Linked DNA regions of Homo sapiens: regions 2 and 3 are each linked to region 1. The links are contacts of gene promoters, found by promoter capture Hi-C in human tissues and cell types (Jung and others, 2019). All regions are on one chromosome and are shown on one strand. Each heading gives the region's core, a stretch centred on a gene start or on the middle of the fragment in contact. The rest is flanking DNA. Distances are from core to core; before and after follow the strand shown.

Evidence for each region. Contacts are between HindIII fragments. The study calls those that stand out against the background at their distance.
Region 2: a contact is called between a fragment that was not itself captured here and the fragment with the promoter of B4GALT5 in region 1, in 2 of the 25 tissues and cell types used here (dorsolateral prefrontal cortex and spleen).
Region 3: the fragment with the promoter of SNAI1 here is called in contact with the fragment with the promoter of B4GALT5 in region 1 in 1 of the 25 tissues and cell types used here (thymus).

Annotation. Positions count from the first base shown.
Region 1 is chr20:49,712,115-49,715,931 of GRCh38, reverse strand. B4GALT5 (beta-1,4-galactosyltransferase 5) reads left to right here and starts at 2,054. Exons shown (of 9, transcript NM_004776.4): 1 at 2,054-2,356. The coding sequence starts at 2,242. RefSeq lists silencers at 1,842-2,171, 2,462-2,581. The HindIII fragment of the contact is 30,885 bases long and covers 1-3,817 here.
Region 2 is chr20:49,279,554-49,283,370 of GRCh38, reverse strand. It overlaps ZFAS1 (ZNFX1 antisense RNA 1), which reads right to left. Exons shown (of 4, transcript NR_036658.2): 3 at 2,801-2,886. It overlaps SNORD12B (small nucleolar RNA, C/D box 12B), which reads right to left and starts at 3,058; the gene lies at 2,956-3,058. It overlaps SNORD12 (small nucleolar RNA, C/D box 12), which reads right to left and starts at 2,688; the gene lies at 2,599-2,688. The HindIII fragment of the contact is 4,058 bases long and covers 1-3,745 here.
Region 3 is chr20:49,981,105-49,984,921 of GRCh38, reverse strand. It overlaps SNAI1 (snail family transcriptional repressor 1), which reads right to left and starts at 1,942. Exons shown (of 3, transcript NM_005985.4): 1 at 1,781-1,942; 2 at 571-1,098. The coding sequence starts at 1,862. RefSeq lists a silencer at 1,928-2,447 and an enhancer at 2,600-3,537. The HindIII fragment of the contact is 23,979 bases long and covers 1-3,817 here.

The DNA.
Region 1 (3,817 bases), core at 805-3,304:
ATCCAGGTGGGGAGTGTACAGATGTTTCTTGTACTATTCTTTCAACTTTTCTGTATGTTTGAAAATGTTTCATAGATACGAGGGTTGGGAGGGGCCATTGTGTGGGCCAACAAAAACTATTTGCAAGTTAGATGATTCCGGCTAGTCTGGGATTTCTGGTCCAGGGCCTTACCTGCACTATTTCATCGAATCCACATCACATCCCCGTGGGGTGGGCAGCACTGGGTCCGATTCACAGGTGATGAATAGAGAAGCTCAGAGAGGTAAGTGACTTTCCCAGAGTCACACAGCCAGGAGATGCCAAGCCGAGATTTGAACTCACATCTATCTGAGTCAAAATTCTCTGCTTTCCTTTTTGATCGTTTAAGCCTCTTCTCTTCCACCATACCATTCTCCAGGGGTATTGAATTAGGTGACAGCTAAGCACTCTTACTATGTGCACTTTGCATGTATTACTTAAATCCTCGCAACAACCTGATGAGGTTGCTAATAACCTCCTCCATTTTACCGAGGCACAGAGAGTTTAACTTGCGTGAGGTCACACAGCTAACAATGGAAAAGCTGGGAGTCAGAGAACCTGGGCAGTGTGGCTCTAGACTCCCCACTTAAAGGATCAAAGAAACACTGTAAAAAGTAGAAATCACTTTAGGAATATAAATCAGAATTATTGTTGATTCTCACAGAATCCCTGCAAAGTCCTCTCCCCTCCCCACTGCTTCTGGCATTCCAAGACAGTACCCTAGTTTCAGATATGTCTACACAGGGACACTGGCCTCCTCAGTCCAGCTCCTTGAGGCTACTGCTTCTTGCCATAAATTTCTAGGACTGTTCATTGCCTTCTGAGGTCCTTTGAGCTGATGCTGATCTGAAAGCATTTTTTTGGATATGGTCCCATACCCAGGTGATGGGGATAGGATACCGATTTGCCTGCAGGATAAGAATTAGAGGTCATACAGACTGCTGAGACAGTTACAACCTAGAGGTCAAGGGCCTGACATGGGAGACAGGCCAGTTTTGATTTAAGCCCTTACTGCAAGGCTTGGGTGAATTGCCTTTCCATCTAGAAACCTCAGTTTCCTCATTTGTATGATAGTAATAATAACAGCACACATCTCAAGACTGGTGGGGGAATTTCATGGCATGAGTGAAGTCCATGTTTCTCAGCAGAAGTCTAGAGACATTGACAATTGTTATCATTATGCTATTTCTGATACAGTAGGATCCCTGACTACAGCTCCAAGCTCATCCCTATTTCCCCCCCTACTTCACTGGATTTTATCCATGTTGGCCTTGGATTCAACTCGGGGGCAGATCAGCCCTTTTCCTACCTCAGGGCCTTTACACCTGCTGTTCCCCCTGGTATGACTGCTTTTTCCCCAGCTTATTCAAAAAAGCTGGCGCTTTCTCACCCTTTTATATCTCAGTTCGTGTCACTGCTCAGTGAGGCCTTCCTTGACCACTCCAGCCTGCCTGCAATACATCCTCCTGTTTTATCGTATTCATATGTGTTACCAGTACCTGATATTACTAGCTGATTTGTTTCTTTTATCTCTCACATAATGTAAGTTTCAAGTAGACAGAGATTTTTATCGTTTTTTTTCTCTGTAGCATGCCCAGCGCCAACAACTGTGTCTGGCATTCAATAAATAAATGGTGAATTGAATGAATGAATGAATGAATGAATGAGGGTGTATACCAGGCCGAACCCCCAAGCCTTGCAGTCCCCACTCTTCTGCTGCAGTGGGCAACGAGATGAGTCAGACTTTGTAGATGGCCCCTTGGCCCCCGAGATGGGGGACGAGCTAGCGCGGAGCACTTGGGAGACATTCCCCGAAAGCCTGGGCGGTGGCCGCACTGGGAGAGGGTCTGTCGCCATTTGGCGATTACTCCATGCGGGCTGCTGTGGGCGCCGAGCGAGGGTCGGCGGCGAGCGCAAGCGCGCGGGTCTTTTGCGACGGTGCCCGGCGGCACTGGCCCCGCCTCCCGCGCGTGCGCCCCGCCTCCGCCCCCGCCGCTGCGCCCGCTCGGGGCCGCTCTGGCCCCCGCCCGCTTCATGTGGCCCGGCCCGCGACGGCCGGCGGCTGGGAGCGGCGAGGCGGCGGCGGCGGCGAGTGGCGGCCCGCGAGGCCCGGGAGGCGGTGGCCGAGGCCCAGGCGGTGGCGGCGGCGGCCCAGGAGGCGGCGGACGGGGAGCTGCGGGAGCAGGCCCGGCCTGGCTCTCTAGCGGCCGCCTGGCTGCAGCATGCGCGCCCGCCGGGGGCTGCTGCGGCTGCCGCGCCGCTCGCTGCTCGCCGCGCTCTTCTTCTTTTCTCTCTCGTCCTCGCTGCTGTACTTCGTCTATGTGGCGCCCGGCATAGGTAGGAAGGGGGCTTGGGACCGCGGCGGCTGCCGCTCTGGCCTTGAGGGACCCGGGGAATCCCCGCCCCTCCCTAAGGGGCCCCGGCCGGGAGGCGGCCCTGAGCCTGGTCCTCCGAAGACTCCGGAGTCCTGGCCCGGCTCTCGGGGACGCCAGGACATTCCTGCCCTCCGCACCCCAACAGGCGCCCGGGATCCCTCTCCCGCGCCAGCCTCCGGCCCACCCCGCCCCTCCTAACGCCACCCTCGCGAACCCGACTGTACCTTCACGCCCGCCCCTTGCTCCGGAACCCCCTTCCCGCTCTTGCCTCGCTGGAACTCCCACTTCCCGCTCCTCTGCTCGAGAACTCCCGCTTCCCCTTCCCTTCCCCGGGGTCTCCTCGAACCCCCATTCCCGGCATTCCCCGCACCCCAGTCCCCCGCGGCGCGCCCGCTCTTCGCCGAGCCCATGTGCCCGGGTCCCAGGCCGCCCCACCTTCTAGCTCCCATCCATCCTCCCCCACTCCCCATGACTCCATCGTTTCCTGCTCCCGTGAGCCCCCTCCCTCCCCTTTCTTCCTCTACTTCCCCTATTACATCCACCTCCAGGTCCTCCTCCCTAACTCACGTTCACCTCTTCAGTGGCCTGATCTCTCTGCCTGCCGGTGGCACCCCCCTTCCCCTTACAGAGGTCCACCCCCATTCAATCTCCTGCTAATCCCCTGAGCGTCCCATGCCTCTTCCCCATCTCCCCCCCCCCCACCTCGCGTACCCACAAGGGCACATCCTTGTCACCTTTGCCCCCAGCCCCCCAGACTTTCAGCCACAGCTTCTTTCTCAACTGAAGACCTGGGGAAGGGGTGCTGTCTGTGTTCTTTCTTCCACTTCTGCCCTCTCCTAGCCTTGAGGGTAGATGGTGTGGTTCTTCAGTATTGGATAGTGCCTGCTCTGCGGACAAAGGAGAAGTTTAAATTGTCCGTAGAGAAGGGGATATGATTGGGGCCTTTGGGAAATGGTACCAGGTGAGAAGGGGGAGCATGGAGGAAAGATGTAATGGGTACTCCTTCTTTTCAAAGTCTTATCCTTTAAAGGAAAGGCGGTCTCTGGAGAAACTGACCCTCCCACCCCTCCCCCGCCTGCCCCAAGCATAGTCTTTTATAAGACCACAGGGCACCAGTTAGGACAGGAAGAGATCAGAAGGAAAGACAGCATGAAGGTTAAGAGCGGAGGACACAGAGGTCAGACTTGGATTCCAATCTCTGCCCTGTATGACCTTGGGCAGGTTACTAAGCCTTTGCATTTCTCCTCTGTAAAATGGGAATGTGAGTCCCAATCTCATACAGTGTTAAGGATGGAAGTAGATACATGTTCTTTAAAAGCACTTACCACTGTACCTGGTGCTTGAAGAGTTTTAAAAATAAGTAAATAAAGGCAGCTATTACATGTAACTTCCAGGAAGAAGGGAGTTAGGTGGAACGCTTAAG
Region 2 (3,817 bases), core at 467-2,966, 430 kb after region 1:
TACCTTCGTTTCAAAGGGAAGGCCCCCTCTAATTGCCAATATCACCAATGTAACCCAGTGCAAATTTCTATTCTTACCTCTACCTCCACCAATCCTAATCCCACTTTAAGTAGCTTCTACAGCATGGGAGCCGCAACATTAGGGATAGACCCTACAGGATCTTTCGAAATGCGCTTCATTGTTCCCCCACCCCCTTCATCCCCTTCTAAACAAACACCCAATGACAAAACCAAAGTGACCATTGTAGAGGTTAAAGATCTAAAGCAAACTCTACCAATTGAAACGGTACCGAGATGCAAATGCATGGCTGGAATGGATTAAACATTCTGTCCGCTCGCTAAACAAAGCGATTGTTATGCTTACGCACGTGGTAAGCCAGAGCCCCAGATTGTTCCCTTTCCACTCGGATCGTCCTCCAGCCGATCAGGCATTAAGTTGTATGGCAGCTCTCTTCCAAGACCCCACAACCTGGGGCAATAAGCTATGCCAAACTCTCTCGCTGCTGTTTCCTGAAGTCCCCTGAAGTCCGACACCCTGCGGGTCAGCCCCCGAGGGCCATCAAGCATCCGTCTTCCAATGCCAATTTTACCTCGTGTCTCTCACAGGGGGAGAACTTGAATTTGCTTGGAGACCTAACGAGATGCAGTGAGCTTAAGCCCTTCCAGGAGCTTACCAATCAGTCGTCCCTTATTCATCCCCAAGCAAACGTATGGTGGTGTTGTGGTGGACCATTACTGAATACTCTGCCAAGTTACTTGGCGTGGCACTTGAGCTCTAATCCAATTGGCTATCTCCCTTTCACCCTGGTATTTCATCCAGAAAACATACATAAAAACAGAACATCATAAAACAATGGATGTCCCTCGTGACTCTCATGTTTATATAGATGCCATTGGAATCCCACGAGGAGTGCCAGATAGATTTAAGGCCCAAAATCAAATAGCTGCAAGTTTGAATCCATGTTGTTCTGGTGGTCAACTCTAAATAAAAATGTAGATTGGGCCGGGAGTGGTGGCACACGCCTGTAATCCCAGCATGTTAGGAGGCTGAGGCGGGTGGATCACAAGATCAGGAGTTTGAGACCAGCCTGACCAACATGGTGACAGCCCCCAGCTACTCAGGAGGCTGAAGGAGAGTAGGTTGAACCCAGGAGGTGGAAGTTGCAGTGAACCATTGCACCATTGCACTCCAGCCTGGGCGACAGAGTGAGACTCCATCTCAAAAAAAACACAAAAAATGTAACCCAGCAACGATTCATTAATTATACTAGGGATGCTATTAAGGGAACAGTTTAACAATTAGGGCCCACCAGTCAAACGGCCTGAGAAAATACAATAGCATTAGACATGATACTAGCGGAGAAAGGTGTAGTTTGTGTCATGATTGGAACCCAGTGTTGTACTTTCATCCCTAATAATACTGCTCCCGATGGAACCATAACAAAGGCCCAAGGACTTACTGCTTTATCCAATGAGCTAGCTAGAAATTCTGGAATAAATGACCCCTTCACGATTTTAATGGAAAAATAGTTCCGCAAATGGAAAGGACTTACGTCCTCAATCTCCTGCCATCAGAATAGGTTTGCTCATTCTTGTAGGATGCTGTATCATACCCTGTATCTGAGGATTAATACAAAAGCTTATTTTAACAGCTCTCACCCACCAAAATCTTCCTCAATCCTCCCTCGCATCATTCAGTTAAGCTTCTAATTTCAGAGGACCAAGAGGAACAAAATCAAGACACGCTAAAACAAGTCTGAAGAGAAATAATTATAAAAATCAAAAGGGGGAAATCGTTAGATACAATGGATTTCTCTTCAAAGTTTTAACTTCCTTGTTCTTTGTTCTTAAGGTCAACTTCCTCATACCTTCCTGCTCCGAGTTACCCGTTCTATAAACAACTTCTCCGGCCAATCTCAACCTGTAACCTGTTCCCTATTTGGAAAAGTCCCCCTCACTCCTAGCAACCAGCTCTGTAAACAAGTTTCCTGCCCTTCCCACAGCTGTAACCCACATGCCTCCTGTTTAAAATAGCCAATCAGGACTAGTTTAGATTGCGCTGTCGACTCCAGCCAATGGGGATAGGACACAGAAGCAGGGACTACTTGTTAGGAATAAAAACCCTTTCTCTCTTTTGTTAGGTGTGCTCTTGCCAGGAATGCCAGCAGCAGCACCCTACGGCAGAAGTAAATTTGCCTTGCTGAGAAATCTTTTGTTCAAGTGCTCGTTTTCTTTGGAACTCCAAGCTCTTATTTCCAACAAAGACCTAGTAATACCAACAGGCCAATGTCAGTCCTAATGACTTATTCTCCCAGTTTTATACCCAACTTGGAAATGGGTCCTGAGGTTAGGCCCAGTTGGACAAATTTTGCGGTGGGGTTTGGCAGATAGAAAGCAGAAACCTCACCTGTTACAAGGCAGACTGAATCAAGCCAAGATCAACACACACTGGTACACGTGGCTCCCAACCTATAGAAAGTTAACAGGTCAAAAGAAGCCATCTGAATGCTGGAAAAAATAGAGAAAGCCCAGTTCCCATGAACAAGCAATAGTCTCTGATAAAGATAAGCAGAAAACAAAGATAGGAGTTATTACTGGGGCCAATGCATCAGACAAAACTGGCCAATAGTGTAGAGATCAACAGGGTCGATCTGATGGGGAAAGAAGCTGTATCATCAGCTGCAAAGGCCACATTTGAGTCGTACAAGAAGTAGGGTGACAAACCCACACTGAAAAGCAGCTACTACCCCCTCCAGAGCCTGTGTCTACTCAGCCAGGGAAGACGTGTTGGCACCACTTACCAATTTTATATGTATATATATATTCTACTTCCAACACCCGCATTCATCCTGGTTCAATCAAAGCCTGGTTTTGGCCAACAATAAACCTGAAATGAAAAAACAGAAAAATGAGCTCCCATCAGCTAGATGCCCAGGGGAGCTGGGACAAAGGAGCTGCTCAAGCTGGCATATCAGACAGAAACTGGCTTAGAAAAGTTAGATCAACATAGTCGATCTGTCGGGGAAAAAAGCTAAGTCATCATATATGCCAGCAGGAAGTTCTTGAGTGAGGAGTAAGATTTGAAAGCCATGAGGAGTAAGATTTGGTTGGTATGCTTCATATTTGCAAATTTGCATTCGGTGTTTGAGCACTTCTGTGTTGTATCCTGTAGCTGGCAATAACTTGGTAGCCAAACCAAACACCCCTGTCTTCAGTGCTTACACTCTGAGTACAGGCCCATGATAGAAGCCAGTGTGGCTGGAAGAGTTGAGGAAGTAGTTGGCATTTACTGAGTTGGGAAGTGAACAAGTACCAAGAGATTGCATTTTAACACAAGTTACCACAAGTTACCTGACAAAAGAACAATCTGGAACAATAAGCTTCACATGTGTTCCCATGAAGCCCAGACTTTGTAAACGCCTCACTCCTGGACTCTAGCAAAAATATTAGTTATGTAGTCGGGCACTGGTTTGAGTGGCTAGTTCAACAGAAAAACACATTTGGCTTTCCAAAATATGTCAATAAATCATCCCTCCACTTGGAAATTTAAGCGCCCCAACACACAGGAAGAATGGAATCCAAAAATATGTTTAAGTGGCATTAAAATGTTAAACGCCTCTTCACTAACAAGGTTCTTTCACTTCAGGCATTTCTCTTAAACCTGTTTCTTCACCAGAAACCTAGTTCCAATATTTGAACTGTGAGAATAAAACATTCAGAACATGTTTTTCTTTTTTTTTTTTTTTTGAGACGGAGTCTGGCTCTGTTGCCCCGACTGTAGGGCAGTGGCGCAATCTCAACTCACTACAACCTCCGCC
Region 3 (3,817 bases), core at 693-3,192, 270 kb before region 1:
CAAGGAACCATTTTTGTGAGAGTTTAGCAGGTACCGGCACTTTGCCAGGTGCTTCCCATATGCATTCCTGCATTTAGCCTGTATAGAAACCCCAAAAGCTGTTCTCATGCCCATCTGAAAGATAGAGAAAATGAGGCTCACAGAAGAGAAACATCAGCCTAAGTTTTGAGAAAGTTCTCAAAGAAGGATTCAGAGCCAGGCGGGGGGTCTGACAACATCCTGTCTGGCTAGGGAGGGGGCGGACCCGGGAGAGGGTGTGGCCGGGTGGGCCCCTTCACACCTGGCCCCCACAGCAAGGTGTTGGTTGCACCTTTCCCATATCCAGCTCCGACCCATTTGGCTGAGAAACAGGCTGCAGGGGATTGGGAAGGTGTCTGCTTTGCCCATCTGCTTAGCTGATGAAGAAAGTTTCTGCCAAACGTTTCCAGAGAGCCAGGCCCTGGAACTTGAGCTAGAAGTTAGAAGACTCGGGGCCTCAGTGTCCACAGCTTTGGGAATGAGAACAGCAAGCCCAGATTCACAAAAGCTGCCAGAGAGAGCAACGGTGGGGGCGCCTGGAGGGGCACGTACCAGTGTGGGTCCGGACATGGCCTTGTAGCAGCCAGGGCCTAGAGAAGGCCTTCCCGCAGGTTCCGCAGACGCAGGGCAGCGTGTGGCTTCGGATGTGCATCTTGAGGGCACCCAGGCTGAGGTATTCCTTGTTGCAGTATTTGCAGTTGAAGGCCTTTCGAGCCTGGAGATCCTTGGCCTCAGAGAGCTGGGCCAGCTGCTTGGGCACTTGGCCCAAGCCTGGGAAGGCAGCATAGGCCTCGGCCTCCAAGGAAGAGACTGAAGTAGAGGAGAAGGACGAAGGAGCCGGTGAGGGTGGGCTGGGGGGCTGGGAGCCTTTCCCACTGTCCTCATCTGACAGGGAGGTCAGCTCTGCCACCCTGGGACTCTCCTGGAGCCGAAGGGAGGCCCAGGCAATTGGCTGGGCTTGGGGCGCCAGGACAGAGTCCCAGATGAGCATTGGCAGCGAGGCGGTGGGGTTGAGGATCTCCGGAGGTGGGATGGCTGCCAGCAGGTGGGCCTGGTCGTAGGGCTGCTGGAAGGTAAACTCTGAGGGAGAAAAAGCAGAGTCAGGCGTTAATTAAATCATTCACTCAATCAACAAACATGAGCCCACCGCTGGCCAGGGGCTGGGTGGGGCCGATTCTCAATACATAATTAGATCAAAAAAATTATCCACAGGACAGACCAGGTTCCTGCCCTCCTCGCCCAGGTCACCCAATCTGAGTCTCTCACACGTAGGACCCCCAGTTGAAGGAGGTCATTTCCTGATCTCCCTCTCCTAAGTCCCCAGTCTCCAGCCTGAGGCCAGAACCCCATCATCCCAGCCCCGGAGCCACCACCCTGCCCCAATCCCCCTCCTCACACACATCTCGTCTCCCCACCCCTCCCCTCAACCCTCTGGACTCCGGACTCTCCCCAGCAGCGTCCAGAGGGCCCTCCTGACACAGGCCTCCTCTCCTTCCCCTCTTGCGGAGCTCCTCCGCCTCTCGCCGGCTACAAAGGCCCCCCAAGCTGAAGACCCCTGCCCTCTACACGGCACTCCCCCAACCACCCAGACAGATCCCCGGAACTGGGGACCCACTTGCCCGGTCTCCCGAGCCCGCAATGGTCCACAAAACATCCTGTGACTCGATCCTGGCTCAGGCAGGCCGCCTCCCTCAGGTGCCCCCCACGCAGCCTTCGCCTGTCTCCCCCAAACCTCCTGGAGCCCAGAACCCCTCCAACGCACCTGGATTAGAGTCCTGCAGCTCGCTGTAGTTAGGCTTCCGATTGGGGTCGGAGGGCTTCCTGACGAGGAAAGAGCGCGGCATAGTGGTCGAGGCACTGGGGTCGCCGATTCGCGCAGCAGTAGCGCAGAAGAACCACTCGCTAGGCCGTGCCGCGGCGCAATGAATGCAGCAGCGCCGCCAACTCCCTTAAGTACTCCGGGGGGGTGGTGGGGGGTGGGAGGGGCGGGGCCTTATCTGCCACGCCCCTTTGTCACCTCCGCGCCAATCGGAGGCTCGTCTCCGCCGAAGGCCACTCCCCGAGCAGGTGCGCCGGCTGCTGGCCGGGCTCGCGCCGCGTGGCGGTGAGAGCCCGGGCGGGGACTCCTCCGAGGCGGGGTTCGCTGGCGCAGCGCGGGTCGTCCCCGGTGCTGGGGCTGTCCGGGGCGGGACGTCGAGCGAAGCGAGGCCTCTGCGAGGTGGGACCCCGGCAGGACGCCGCGCGCCCACCGGCTCAGCGCCCGGTGGTCTGAGCGCTTCTGACGCCCCCTGGCGCTGCGCGCCGGCCGGGACACCTGACCTTCCGACGCCCGCCCCCGCCTCGGGCTTGGGAGGGGGCGGAAATTTCCTCCGCCCGGCTGGCGCCTGGAGAGCGTGGCATTGACGAGGGAAACGCACATCACTGGGGAGGAAGCGAGGAAAGGGACACCGCACGTGGCTCTCGGCGGCTTGAAATGCCACGGCCTTTTTGCAAAGCAGCCTGGCCCAGCTAGCCAAGAGCACCCGTTCCTTCCCTTATCCAGTGTTTACGGAGCGCCCAGCACGTGTGGGGCACTGTACCTGGGGCCAGGGCACAGCCCCGGACAGAACACTCAGAGCCTCTCCCGAAGGGTAGCTTCTGGTCCAGTGAGGGAGACAGACGAAGTAAACAGATAATTACAATGCAAAGGGAAGTGTGCTTTGGTGGGGGAGAGACGGGACGCGGCGACCGTTAAGAGGCGGGTCACCTGACAGGGGGTCGGGGTGACTTCCCAGAGGAAGTGAAGAATTATCAAGGGAAAAGGCCCGAGGGAAGAAGTGGCAACTGCTTCAGAGTAACTCCTAGAGAGCAGCTTCCAGGGATGGGGTGGGATGGGCATGCCCGGAGGGGTCAGATGTGCTGGGCCCCAGGGCCTCGTAGGAGTTTGGACTTTGCCTCAAGGGCACTGGGGAGCCACCGAAGGATTTTCAGCTGAGGAGGGACCTGGTTAGAGTTTCGTTGAAAAAGATCCCTGTAGGCTGGCGGGAGAAAGAAGGCATGGGCCGGGCGTGTCTCCTCACCCCGTGAAGATCCTCGATCCTGTGTCTAAAGGCTGTAACACGGCTCCATAGGGGCCCTGACTGAATGCATGTGGGGTGGGCCCAAGTGAGGGGCAGCTGCACCCCCACCCCAGCTTCCCTGGGAGGCGTACCAGGCCCGGGGGTGGCTCTGAAATAAACCTCACAGGTCTCACCGTTCTTGTTTCCACCTGTGAAGGAAGACTATAAAAACCTATAAGCACCCCACACCACCACCACCACCAACCTGAAGGGCAGAACTACTGTCTGTTTAGTCACTTGGTGCCGGGTGTGACAGCCGTGAACAAAATCGTCCTCCCCTGGTTCTAGCTGGAGAGCGGGCAGTAGGGTGGGGGACAGAGGCAGTAAGCAGTCATTAAGCGGAATACTCCCCGTCCCGTGTCAATTTAGCTCCAATCAGGATCCTTTGCTTGAAGCCAAAGTGAGGCCAGATCACCCCCTCCTCTGCTCAAACCCTCCCATGCGCCTGTCTCAGAGTAAAAGCCAAAGTCCTCTCCTCAGCCAACTCGGCCCCGCTGCTCTGACCCCAGCTGACATTGGCTTGAGCCTCTCTCCCTCCCCCATGCACAAGGATCCCACCCCCAGCCTTCCTTCTGTTCCTCCAACATCCCAGACCTTTCCCACCTTGGCACCTGCTGCTCTTCCTCCTCTCCCCTACGTCTCTTGCTCCTAGATCTTCACGCTGGCTTCCTTTCATTCTTTGTTTCAGCAGCAACTTCACT